Regions from separate parts of the Homo sapiens genome. Here region 2 is linked to region 1. Evidence: promoter capture Hi-C in 16 types of primary human blood cells and fetal thymus (Javierre and others, 2016). All regions are on one chromosome and are shown on one strand. Each heading gives the region's core, a stretch centred on a gene start or on the middle of the fragment in contact. The rest is flanking DNA. Distances are from core to core; before and after follow the strand shown. Region 1 holds the start of CRTC3 (CREB regulated transcription coactivator 3). Region 2 overlaps NGRN (neugrin, neurite outgrowth associated).

Evidence for each region. The method cuts DNA at HindIII sites, captures the fragments that hold promoters and counts their contacts. A CHiCAGO score of 5 or more calls a contact.
Region 2: a contact is called between a fragment that was not itself captured here and the fragment with the promoter of CRTC3 in region 1, in 1 of 17 cell types (activated CD4 T cells). The highest score is 5.3, in activated CD4 T cells.

The regions. Positions count from the first base shown.
Region 1 is chr15:90,527,486-90,533,003 of GRCh38, reverse strand. It overlaps CRTC3 (CREB regulated transcription coactivator 3), which reads right to left and starts at 3,081. Exons shown (of 15, transcript NM_022769.5): 1 at 2,801-3,081. The coding sequence starts at 2,932. RefSeq lists an enhancer at 1,978-2,137 and silencers at 2,528-2,707, 2,728-3,477, 3,578-3,627. The HindIII fragment of the contact is 15,096 bases long and covers 1-5,518 here.
Region 2 is chr15:90,268,049-90,273,566 of GRCh38, reverse strand. NGRN (neugrin, neurite outgrowth associated) reads right to left here. Exons shown (of 3, transcript NM_001033088.3): 3 at 1,356-2,379. The coding sequence ends at 1,779. Among named protein-coding and RNA genes, the nearest start is that of NGRN, 5.1 kb to the right of the region's middle. The HindIII fragment of the contact is 6,495 bases long and covers 168-5,518 here.

The sequences.
Region 1 (5,518 bases), core at 1,832-4,331:
GAGCGATTCTCCTGCCTCAGCCTCCCGAGTAGCTGGAACTACAGGCGCACGCCACCATGCCAGGCTAATTTTTGTACTTTTAGTAGAAACGGGGTTTCGCCATGTTGGCCAGGATGGTCTCGATCTCTTGACCTCGTGATCTGCCCGCCTCAGCCTCCCAAAGTGCTGGGATTACAGGCGTGAACCACCACGCCCGACCCCACTTTCCTCCCTCTCTTTACCATTCCAGGTACCACCACTCAACTCCTCCTCCTAGTACTCCCTTCTCAAAATTTTCCCACTGCTTCCTGATAATGCCGGACTTCTAAAGCTAGAGAAAATCCTCTACAGTCTAGTCTATCCTACCCACTAGGTGAATAGGATAAGTAACGCCTAGGTGAATAGGTAAGTAAGGCCAACTCTGAAGGATTGCTTTGATCATGTAGAGAAGAACTTGAATCCCAACACAGGCTCAGAGGGGAAAGAGCATCTAGATAGATCAGTAATGTCTGCCCTATCGATTAGCATGTCTGTCATGGGCTAGTAATGAAAAGTCAGGAATTAGCATGTCTGTCATGGGCTAGTAATGAAAAGTCAGTATATCTGCCACCCAGTTACCAATTATGAACTAGGCAGATACTCCTCCAACTGGGATCTTTGGATCCTTAGAGACGCATTCTTCATAGACATGCTGGGAATCTAAGAGTTCTCTATGAGAAGTGTTCTAATTTTGTGATTTCTTCATGAAAATAACCCTTAAGATTTTTAAATAAGCAAACATTAGTAGCCAAATTCAGTGTTATCATTTACAGATGTGTTTATGAACACGGTGGAGCCAAGCAGTGTTACTTTACTGGTAACTGGCCAAGAAGAAAACACGGGCAGAATTAATATGTAAATGATTCCCTGTACCAGGTGAAGGGCAAAATGACACCATAATTTTGTAGTAATTAGAATAAAGTGGTGACTGAATTATCATATGGGCCACAGTTGATTAGGCTTGCTAAATTCAAGAGACCCTGAGCTATAGCAGGGTCTCTAAAGTAAGTAAACACTTTTTTTTTACTTGAAAGTAAGTAAACAGTGAGGATCTGTGAAAAATTTTTGCTTTTAAAAGAGAGTCTGTACATTACTCATGGCCTCACCTGTCAGGGATATTTTAAAGAAGATTCATGAATTGGGTGAAAGATTGGATCCGCCATAGGTATACAGACATATACAGTGCATGTATTTGTACATAAACAATGTACAGTATGTATTTAAAAACACATAACAACACAGGCCCCAACACTAATCCTCAGCTTTCACCCACCCATTCTTTTCAACGTGCTCTGAGCTTATCGAGTTCATCTCTGAATCTAACCAAGGTCACAGATGTAAATGCCAGTGGATGCCAGGCAGGTAAAAAATGAGTGAAGCTGATAGGGTATAAGAAAACATTTTCTTGAAATCTTCAGCTTCTTTCTCTCTATATATATATTTTTTCTCAATGTGAACAGAAATGTAAGTACAGGAAATATTTCACTTTTTCCTTAACTTCACTGAAAGAAAACACCATCATGAGTATAAATGGCAACTGTCACCTAATCTCCCCTTGGGGGACTGTGACAGAGAGTGGACGGTGGCAAACTAGAGTTCTTACTCCATTTGAAAGGGAGCTCAGCTCAGCTCCCTTTCATCATCACCCAGCTCCAGCAGGTCGGTAGCTGTCATGTAGGAATTCAGAATTAGTGTTACCAGGTCTCCCAATTTTTAACATATATAAATAATAATAAATAAATAATACGGAAATTTGGATTTTGTGTGGAAGTCTTCCAATTTAAAAATTCTGGCAACAGATTCAATAATTTTTCCCAAACACTGCGCTGGCCAAAAAATAATGTGTCTGCAACTCAGCTGGTTTGCAACTCTGCTCTCAGCTCTCCTTCAAACTGTCTCCCCCGCCTCAGTCCCCCAGAATCTGCAGATCCTCCCCCATCCTCCCGATGGTCCTCCAAGGTCAGCATTCAGGATCCTCAAGGCCAGCCCCACTCCTGCTGACCCCCCTTCTCTGCAACCCTGCGCGGACACTCCGGTTGGCTCTCCATCCTCCACTGCCTCACTCAGCGGTTACCTAACCTCTCCAGGTGTTTGTCCCGGCTCGCGCCTTACTCATTCCTCCAGGTCCCTCTCCAGTCACCAGCGACGCTTGTCAGTTCTCACTAAATATCCCGGGCCGAACAAAGTAAACTGGACCCGATAAAGCACCTCCAAGGAGTAAAAGGAGCAGAGCCTCACACTCGACACGGAATCCCGTCGTGGTTCCAACAACCCGAGCCACCCCAGGGCCGGGCCCTGGATGGACTTGTGCACAGAGCTCCCCCCACGAGCGCGTGGGACCCTGGGGTGCCCGCGGCCTTCCACGCCGGCAGAACAGCAGGGCTCGATGGTGGGGGATGTTCGGAGCGACCAGAAGCCGCGCCGCGCCACCCGGCCGGCCTCCGAGCTGTTTGCGATTTCCTCTCGGGGCTCCTCGTCCTCCTCCCCCTCAGGCCGCCCTCGCACGGCCGCCCGCCTCCACGGGCTTCACCCCTGCCCATCTTCCCGCACACGGGGCCGGGCGACCCTCCCACCTCAGCCCGGGATCGCGAACGGCTAGCGGGTGTCGCCAGGCGGGGAAACGCCGAGGCCGCGGCCGCTCCGGTCCCCCTCCCAGCCGCCGGTTCCCGGGCGCGGCCCCCGCCCGGCCCCGCCATCGCCTTGGCCCCGCAACCTCTCACCCGCCGCGCGGGTCCCGCCCGCGGCCGTGGCCGCCCCCGCCCGCGCCGGCCCGGGCCCTCACCCGCGACAGGGTGAGGTCGGTCATGAGCTGCTCGAAGGCCCGCGTCTCCTCGGCCTGTCTCTGCGTGTGCAGCGCGATCTTCTCACTGAACTTCCGCGGGTTGGCGCTGCCCGAGCCCGGCGAGGCGGCCATGGCGCGGACTCTGCGCGGGCAGAAGCGGGAGACGGCGGCCGTGGGGCCTGTACCTCGGCCCACCCGTCCGTCCACAGGCCGCCGGGGCCGCCGCCCGAAGCCAGTCGTCCGGCGCGACCCGGCAGAGGAGCCGCCGCGGCCCCGGAGCCAGCGAGCGGCCGGGAGCGCGCCGAGGTCCGCCCCCGTGCGCCCGGCCCCGCCCCACCCTCGGCGGGGCCCGCCCGGCCTCCAGTCTGCCCCGGCCCCACGCTCGCGGGCTGAGGGCTGCTCCCCGCTTCCCGGTCTGGCTCGGGACCCGCCGCCGGCGGCCACCTGGAGGGACCCCCGTCAGCCCGACAAAGTGGCCCCGGCGTACGGGGAACGCTGGGGTGCCACTCCACGGAGACTCTCCGACCCAGGGATGGCCTCTGCGTCTACGCGACGTGGAGAACACAGCCTGTGCCCGCATCCCCCCTCCCCCAGCCAAATTACGAAGATTTTCTTCTCCAGGTGGAACCTGGGCGACCGGACCTCGAGCAGGTCACCTCGGGCCCCCGCAGGGGGTGCGCCCATTTTGCCTGGGGCCTAACGTCTGCCCGCCAGCCCTGCCGCTCCAGGCCCCCGGCCTCCAGCCGCTGGTTTCCTGACCTCTCACACCCACCCCTCCCCGCTCCAGTCAACCAGAGCTGTATCTCGGCTTTAAAAACTGCCTCCTATTCTGCACAAACTACAAACACCATCCAGCCCTGCTGCAGCCTTGGCTCCATAGCCCCGGCCCCCTTTCCAGGTTCTTTCCAAGTCTCCCTACGGCCTCTCCACTCCTGTGGCAGCTTCAGCAGGTGCCAGCCCCACCTTGGGAAACCAGCGCTCAGCCTCAGCGAATTTCCCCTTCTTTTGGGGGAGTGAATGGATGTCTTTCTCTGTCGCCCGGTCTGGAGTGTAGTGGTGCGATCTCGACTCACCGCGGCCTTGACCTCCCGGGCTCAAAAGATCCTCCCACCTCAGCCTCCCGACCAGCTGGGACCACAGGCGGGGGTCACCACGCCCGGCTAGTTTGTAAATGTTTTTGTAGCAATGGGGGGCGGGGGTGGGTCTCGCTATTTTGCCCAGGCTGGTCTCGAACGCCTGGGCTCAAGCGATCTGCCCACCTCAGCCTCCCAAAGTGCTGGGATAACAGGCGTGGGCCACAGTGCCCGGGGAGTTTCCTCTTTGGAGTCCAGAAGCTACTCTCAGCATAAATGTTGATGTGCACAAAGATGTCCCGGGGAGCCCTGAGCGTGTGTCAGTGTTCTGTAAAGAGGGAAATATTAGAGGCCTACGGAAGAGTACGGAAAATAATATTAATACTACCCACGCCCCCCACTATCAAGATTAAACAGACATCAATACATTTTGCTGCATGTACTTGGGATTTATTAAAGACATACAAAATTAGTCATAACGACGGCCCCACTCTCATTTCTTCTTCCGCCCCACAGATAGTCACCGTGCTCAAGTTGGTACATATCATTCCAGTTTGTGTTTTTATACTTTTATTACATATGATGTAGAGATCCAGCAATGCTATATGGAATACCTAATTTTGTTTTTAAACTTTACAAAAATGACACCATACTGAATAATCATTTTGCATCTTTTTTCATTCTCCATTATGTTTTCGAGATATATTTGTGTCAATTCATTTATATGATAATATTCCATTATGTTTTTCACCTGTCTCTCAGACATAGCCTATAACTGGACTTTTTAGAAAATGTATTCTGAAAATATATCTCTGTTAGCTAGAATTTAGCTATTTTTATTAATTATAATTGGATTTTTTTTTCTGTTGTATTTTGTGTTATTTACCATGCTTTTTTTTTGTTGTTGGTTTGTTTTTGAGACGGAGTCTTGCTCTGTTACCCAGGCTGGAGTGCAGTGGCCTGATCTCAGCTCACTGCAAACTCTGCCTCTTGAGTTCAAGTGATTCTTGTGCCTCAGCCTCCCGAGTAACTGGGATTACAGGCTTGCGCCACCATGCCCGGCTAGTTTTTTTTTTTTTTTTTAAGACAGAGTCGCGCTCTGTCGCCCAGGCTGGAGTGCAGTGGTGCAATCTCGGCTCACTGCAATCTCTGCCTCCTGGGTTCAAGCTATTCTCCTGCCTCAGCCTCCTGAGTAGCTGGGATTACAGGTACACGCCACCACGCAGGCTAATTTTTTGTATTTTTTGTAGAGACGAGGTTTCACCATGTTGGTCAGGCTGGTCTCAAACTGCTGATCACAGGTGATCCACCTGTCTCGGCTTCCCAAAATGCTGGGATTGCAGGCGTGAGCCACCGCGCCTAGCATTTTTCTTTACATTTTATTTCTGCTTTTCTGTTACATTGTTTGGGTCAAGTTTCAGAGAACAGAACCATTCTAGATGGTTTAAGTACAAAAGAATATATTACAGGGTATAAAATGACTTCCAGACTTGTTTGGAGGGCTGAAGCAACCGACTCCAGGTTGAACTTTGAGGAATGACTTTGAGAGCTATGCTGCAATACTGAGCCACCAAAGGAGACACTGCCTCTTTTGAAATCAGGAAGCCATCTACTAAATTGGAAAGCTGTCTCTACACTTACCAGC
Region 2 (5,518 bases), core at 2,166-4,665, 260 kb after region 1:
TTTAAGAACAGCCTTTAGGTTTCTATAGCCCACTGCGAAAAGGGTATGGCATGATCAGATATTTGCAGGAGTGAGAAATGCAAATTTAAACAATCAAACAGCATCTAACACATCTTTAACAATTAAATACCATAAATATAACAAAACCATAAAAATACTGATAAGCTTCTACTATGAACTACATGATAGTGACAGGGCAGTGACAGCAAAGGTCCTATCTGCCCACTGTTGTATTACCAGCATCTGGATCGTAGAATTTTGCTTGGCATGTGACAGGGCTTTGTCATTTATACTGAGAACAGATCCTCAAGTTATCAATAATAATTGATAAAAGCAACAGTAATCAGTATTTTAATTGCTGTAATTGGACATTTGAAATAGCAGTAAGATTCTACAGAGTGGCAATGACTGAGTTGGAATGTAGGTGTTTCCATTAATGTCCTACATATATTTAAATTCGGAGTAGCCATTTTTCCTGGTAAATTGTGAAAGCAGGACATGGTTCTCCAAGGTTCACAGGTAAACCATCCCACCAGAGCACTAATGAGCAGACTGCTACATTTTACTTTATTTTGCTTGTAAGGAAAACAAATTGACTAAGCTGTCCCCGAATTTCTAGTTATAACAGATGTATTTCTAAAACAAGCAGTAAATTAACAAAATTATGGCAGACAGTGCCATATTCCCGGAATTCCAGAAGCCCTGGATTAATGATGAGACCCGAGTTAAGTCCCAGCACTGCCACTTACTGGCAGCCATCTTAAAGTCTATTTCCTTATTTGTAAAAGGGACCTCTTAATCCGGGATTGCCTACACCATGGCACCATTGTAAAAATCTGGTTAAGTAAACTGTATAATGAGACATAATTGAAGATCGATTGATTTTATTTAGAGATGGGGGTCTCACTGTTATCCCAGGCTGGAGTGCAGTGGTGCAATCATAGCTCACTGCAGCCTCAACCTCCGAGGCTCAAGCGATTCTCCCACCTCGGCCTCCCAAGTAACTGGGACTGTAGGCACATTCTGCCATGCCCAGCTCTTAATATAAACTTTAAAATGTGGCTGGAGATTATAAGGGCCCTAAAGCCTTTGCCTGCTTTGTATTTTCTGCCAACCCCTCATTTCCCAATCTCTGCCAGAACCCCAGCAACTAAAAGAAAGGCGTCCAGTTTTCAGTTGTCAGAATCCCTCACTAAGCAGGATGCTCTGCACAGAGCCCTTTGCTGGGAAATTCCTCTGGTTCCATCTCTCTCCCAATGTTTACTGACCAGGGATCCTTCCTTTCTGCCTTTGTCCTTCCCTCTCTCCAAGGTTCACAGGTAAACCATCCCACCCCAAAGAGCACCAAAGAGGCAGACTGCTACATTTTACTTTATTTTGTTGTAAGGAAAACCAATTGACTAAGTTGTCCCCAAAATGTTAGTGTTCACTGATCAAGAAGGAAATGAGGTCAGAAGGCAAACTTTTCACTTCTTCTCAAACATAAATTGCAAGTATCACAGAAAATTGTAACAACACATGCAACACGGGATGGCTTTCAACACACAGAGAGCCTAAGCAAGAAGAGTGAGTACTGAAGGTCTACAGAGGTCAGACTGGGAGCACTACCACAGGAAGTTTGAATCTATCCACGCAGCTCTTTCCTCCCACAGTCCAGGCTCAACACCTCTTCCTATTCCAAGGTGGCTTATCCATATGCAGAAATCCAGGCTGTTCCATATACATTAATACTTGCCCAGCTGTGTTTCACGAGGCATCTCCATAAGCCAAGCCCCGACTCAAATTCTGTACAGGAAGTTCCCGTTGCTGTCAAAGAACTCTCGGCCCCTCTGCACTACTTTGCTGCTGAAGTTATCTGGCTCCTCTGCCTTCAACTCCTCCAGCTTCTGACCACTTGGCAACGCACCACTGCCAGTTCCTCTGGGGCTCTCAGAATCACTGGAGTACTTCTGCAGCTCTCTTGGATGACCTAGGGGTGCAGCAACAGGCACAAAGCTCTCCTCCAGGTCCTGGATTTCTTTATTTCTTCCCTTCCTTCTCCTTGGTGTATTTGTCCTGTGAGTGTCTGACTCTATCACTTTCAAAGCTGTGCTGTGATTTGGGTCTTTAGATGAGGCTTCATGCCCTGGCATAAGCAAAGAGCCTGATACAGAGTGGCCTGCAGGGAGCAGCTTTGAGGTATTTCCAGAGCCCCGGAGGTGCTGCAGCGAGTGGGCAAGCCCAGCTTTCTTAAGGACTTTTTGATCCTGCTTCAGCTTCTGCTCCAATGTGGGTAAAAACTTGCTTTTTAAAACTCTTCGGATCACATCAGTGCTGACATCAAAGCCTTCAGCCAACCTGGGAACTGACCAGGACTCTGGAAATTCCTCATGTAAATACCTACGGGAAGAAGGAGCAGGTTTGCAAGTTGTGAAGAAGTCTCCTATCAGAACATCTAACTCGCAATACCTATGATAAAGAAGAGGGGTTGAGGCCTGGCATGGTGGCTCACACCTGTAATCCCAGAACTCTGAGAGGCCGAGATAGGCGGATCACTTGAGCCCAGGAGTTCGAGACCAGTGATTCTTGTGCCTGAGCCTCCGAAGTAGCTGGGATTACAGGCATGAGCTACCACGTGGCACAAGAATCACTTGAACCTGGGAGGTGAAGGCTGCGGTGAGCCGAGATTGCACCACTGCACCACTGCACTCCAGCCTGGGCAACAGAGTGAGACTCTCCCAAAAAAACAAAAAAAGAGAGCTTGAAAAACCGCAAATGTAGTCCCTATCTTGTGCTAGCTAAATCTTGTGCTAGTCCCTATCTTGTGCTAGTTAAATGGCTGTGTTCCATTTCTGTGTGTCAACAGCAACACCTGACCACTGTCAGTCAGGTCACTTCATTTCACATCAACTCAGCTCCTCTCACTGACATCTAATACCACAATAGATCCTGGGGACGCAGGAGGACTGACCTTCCCATTACATAGTTTGGGAGTGGGGACAGACAAAATAAATGACATTATGGTAAAGGTTATAGCACAGGATGCAAAGACAGCACCCCAGGAGGGAGACCCAGATATAGGGAATAAGAACACTTATAGCCAGGCCCAGGAATTGCTTCATGAAGTCCAAGCTAGAGTTGGTCTGAAAGGATGAAAGGAGTAATAAGCTGGCAGAAGGGAGGAGAGAAGGAGAGATGAAAGATACTGATGATAAAGTGAAGAGCTTGTGAAATGTAAAGCGGCACATCACCTTTGTTGGGAATAACTCAACTGACAGTGAGGGTAAGAAGTAGATCACACTTAGGGGTCTGGAGTTTATCCCAAGGCAACAGCAAGTCAAGGAAAAATTTTAAGCAGTGGAATGCCACAGATAAATTTTCATTTTGAAGTTCAACCTACAGCCTGGCACAATGGCTCACTCCCAGCACTTTGAGAGGCTGAGGCAGGAGGATTGCTTGAGCCCAGGAGTTCGAGACCAGCCTGGGAAACAGGGAGATCCCATCTCTATTAAAAAAAGAAAAAAAGGAATTCAACCTAGTGGTAGTTTTTCAGTGACAAAAGTATAGGCAGAAAGATTGGTCAAGAGGCTTTTACAGTAATCCAGATAGTCTCGAGTGAGACAGTCAATGGAGCATAGGAGGAAAGTGAGTTGAGAAATATTTTAAGAAAGTCAAATAGTACAACTTGGTACTAAGGGACTAAATATTGGGGGAAGCATCATCAAGGCCAAGATGCAGGATTTTAGCTTGGGTAATCAGTAGGTTATAGGAAAAACAGGAACAGAATGAAGTTGTCAGGGAACAACGATGAATTCTATTTTGTACATGCTGAGTTTGAGGAAACTGTGATATCCAAAACAGAGATGTCTGGTACACAGTTGAATATATGCCTTTAGATTTCAGGAAAAAAAACATGAACTGGAGATGACAGATTTGGAAGTCATAAGCCAATAGCAGGGGTGACTGAGTGGCTAGCATCAGGCAGGGAAATATGCAGAGTGAACTAAAATGACAAGGACAGAACTCTATGAAATAACAATATTTAAGATATAGGAGGTAGAAGAGGAGCCCAGGAAGGAAACTGAGAAAAGCAGCCCTAGAAACAAAGAAAAAAAGATCAGAAGGGAATGGTACCCTGGAGTCAAGGGAGAAGAGAATTTTAAGAAAGCAGTTCACCATGGCACATGTACACCTATATAACAAACCTGCACATTCTGCACATGTACCCCAGAACTTAAAGTAAAATTAAAATAATAAAAATAAAAAAAGGCTGGGTATGGTGGCTCACGCCCGCCTGTAATCCCAGCACTTTTGGGAGGCTAAGGCAGGCAGATCACTTGAGGTCAGGAGTTCAAGACCAGCCTGGCCAACACGCTGAACCCAACCTCTACTAAAAATCCAAAAAAAAAAAAAAAAAAAAAAAAATTAGCCAGGTATAGTGGTGTGCACCTGTAATTCCATCTACTTGGAAGGCTGAGGCACGACAATCACTTGAACCCAGGAGGCAGAGGTTGCAGTGAGCCAAGATCATGCCACTGCACTCCAGCCTGGCAGCAGAATGAGACTCCGTCTCAAAAAAAAAAAAAAAAAAAAAAGAGAGAATCAGTGTCAATCAATAAATAAATAATGGGGGGGGGGGGGTGGGAGAAAGCAGTTTCAGCTGGGTGCAGTAGCTCACACCTGTAATCCTAACACTTTGGGAGGCCAAGGCAGGCAGATCGCTTGAGCTCAGAAACTGGAGACCAGGTTGGGCAACATGGCAAAATCCTGTCTTTATTTAAAATATATATATATATTTTAATTTAAAAGGCAGTTTTTACAAGGGCAAATGCTGCTGAATTATTTAGGACGCTAAGGACTACAAAGTGTCTTTTTGAGCCTAGCACTGAGGAAGTCACTGATGGATTTAAGGAGAGCAGTTTTATTGCAGTGATACAAACAAACAAAGGGTAGGCACCCTGGGAACCAGCTGGGAACAAAAGAATGAGAGAGAGCTTTAGGTTGAGGACAGAGGTCCTTGAGTAATCTTATGCAGGGAGAAATATGACCTAAAGCATACAGAGAATTGGTCCCAGACAAGTGAAGGGCTCCCATTTCCTCTGAAATGGGAGTAGAGTATAAGTTTGAGAGTAGTGGGCAAAGAGGAAGACCAGGAAGCTGAAAGTTTTTACTTAATGGACTGTTTTTTTTTTTTCCTCTTAAAAGGACATTTATTGACCACAATAAAGGGAGATAAGTAGGAAGGTGGAAGGTTTGAAAAAGCTATTGTTGAAGACAGGAGATAGAGGCCGGCATGGTGGCTCATGCCTGTAATCCCAGCACTTTGGGAGGCCGAGGTGGGTGGATCACCTGAGGTCAGGGGTTTGAGACCAGCCTGGCCAACATGGTGAAACTCTGTCTCTACTAAAAATACAAAAATTAGCCAGGTGTGGTGGTGCACGCCTGTAATCCCAGCTACTTGGGAGGCTGAGGTCCAAGAATCTCTTGAACCTGGAGGCAGAGGCTGCAGTGAGCTGAGATTTCGCCACTGCACTCTGGC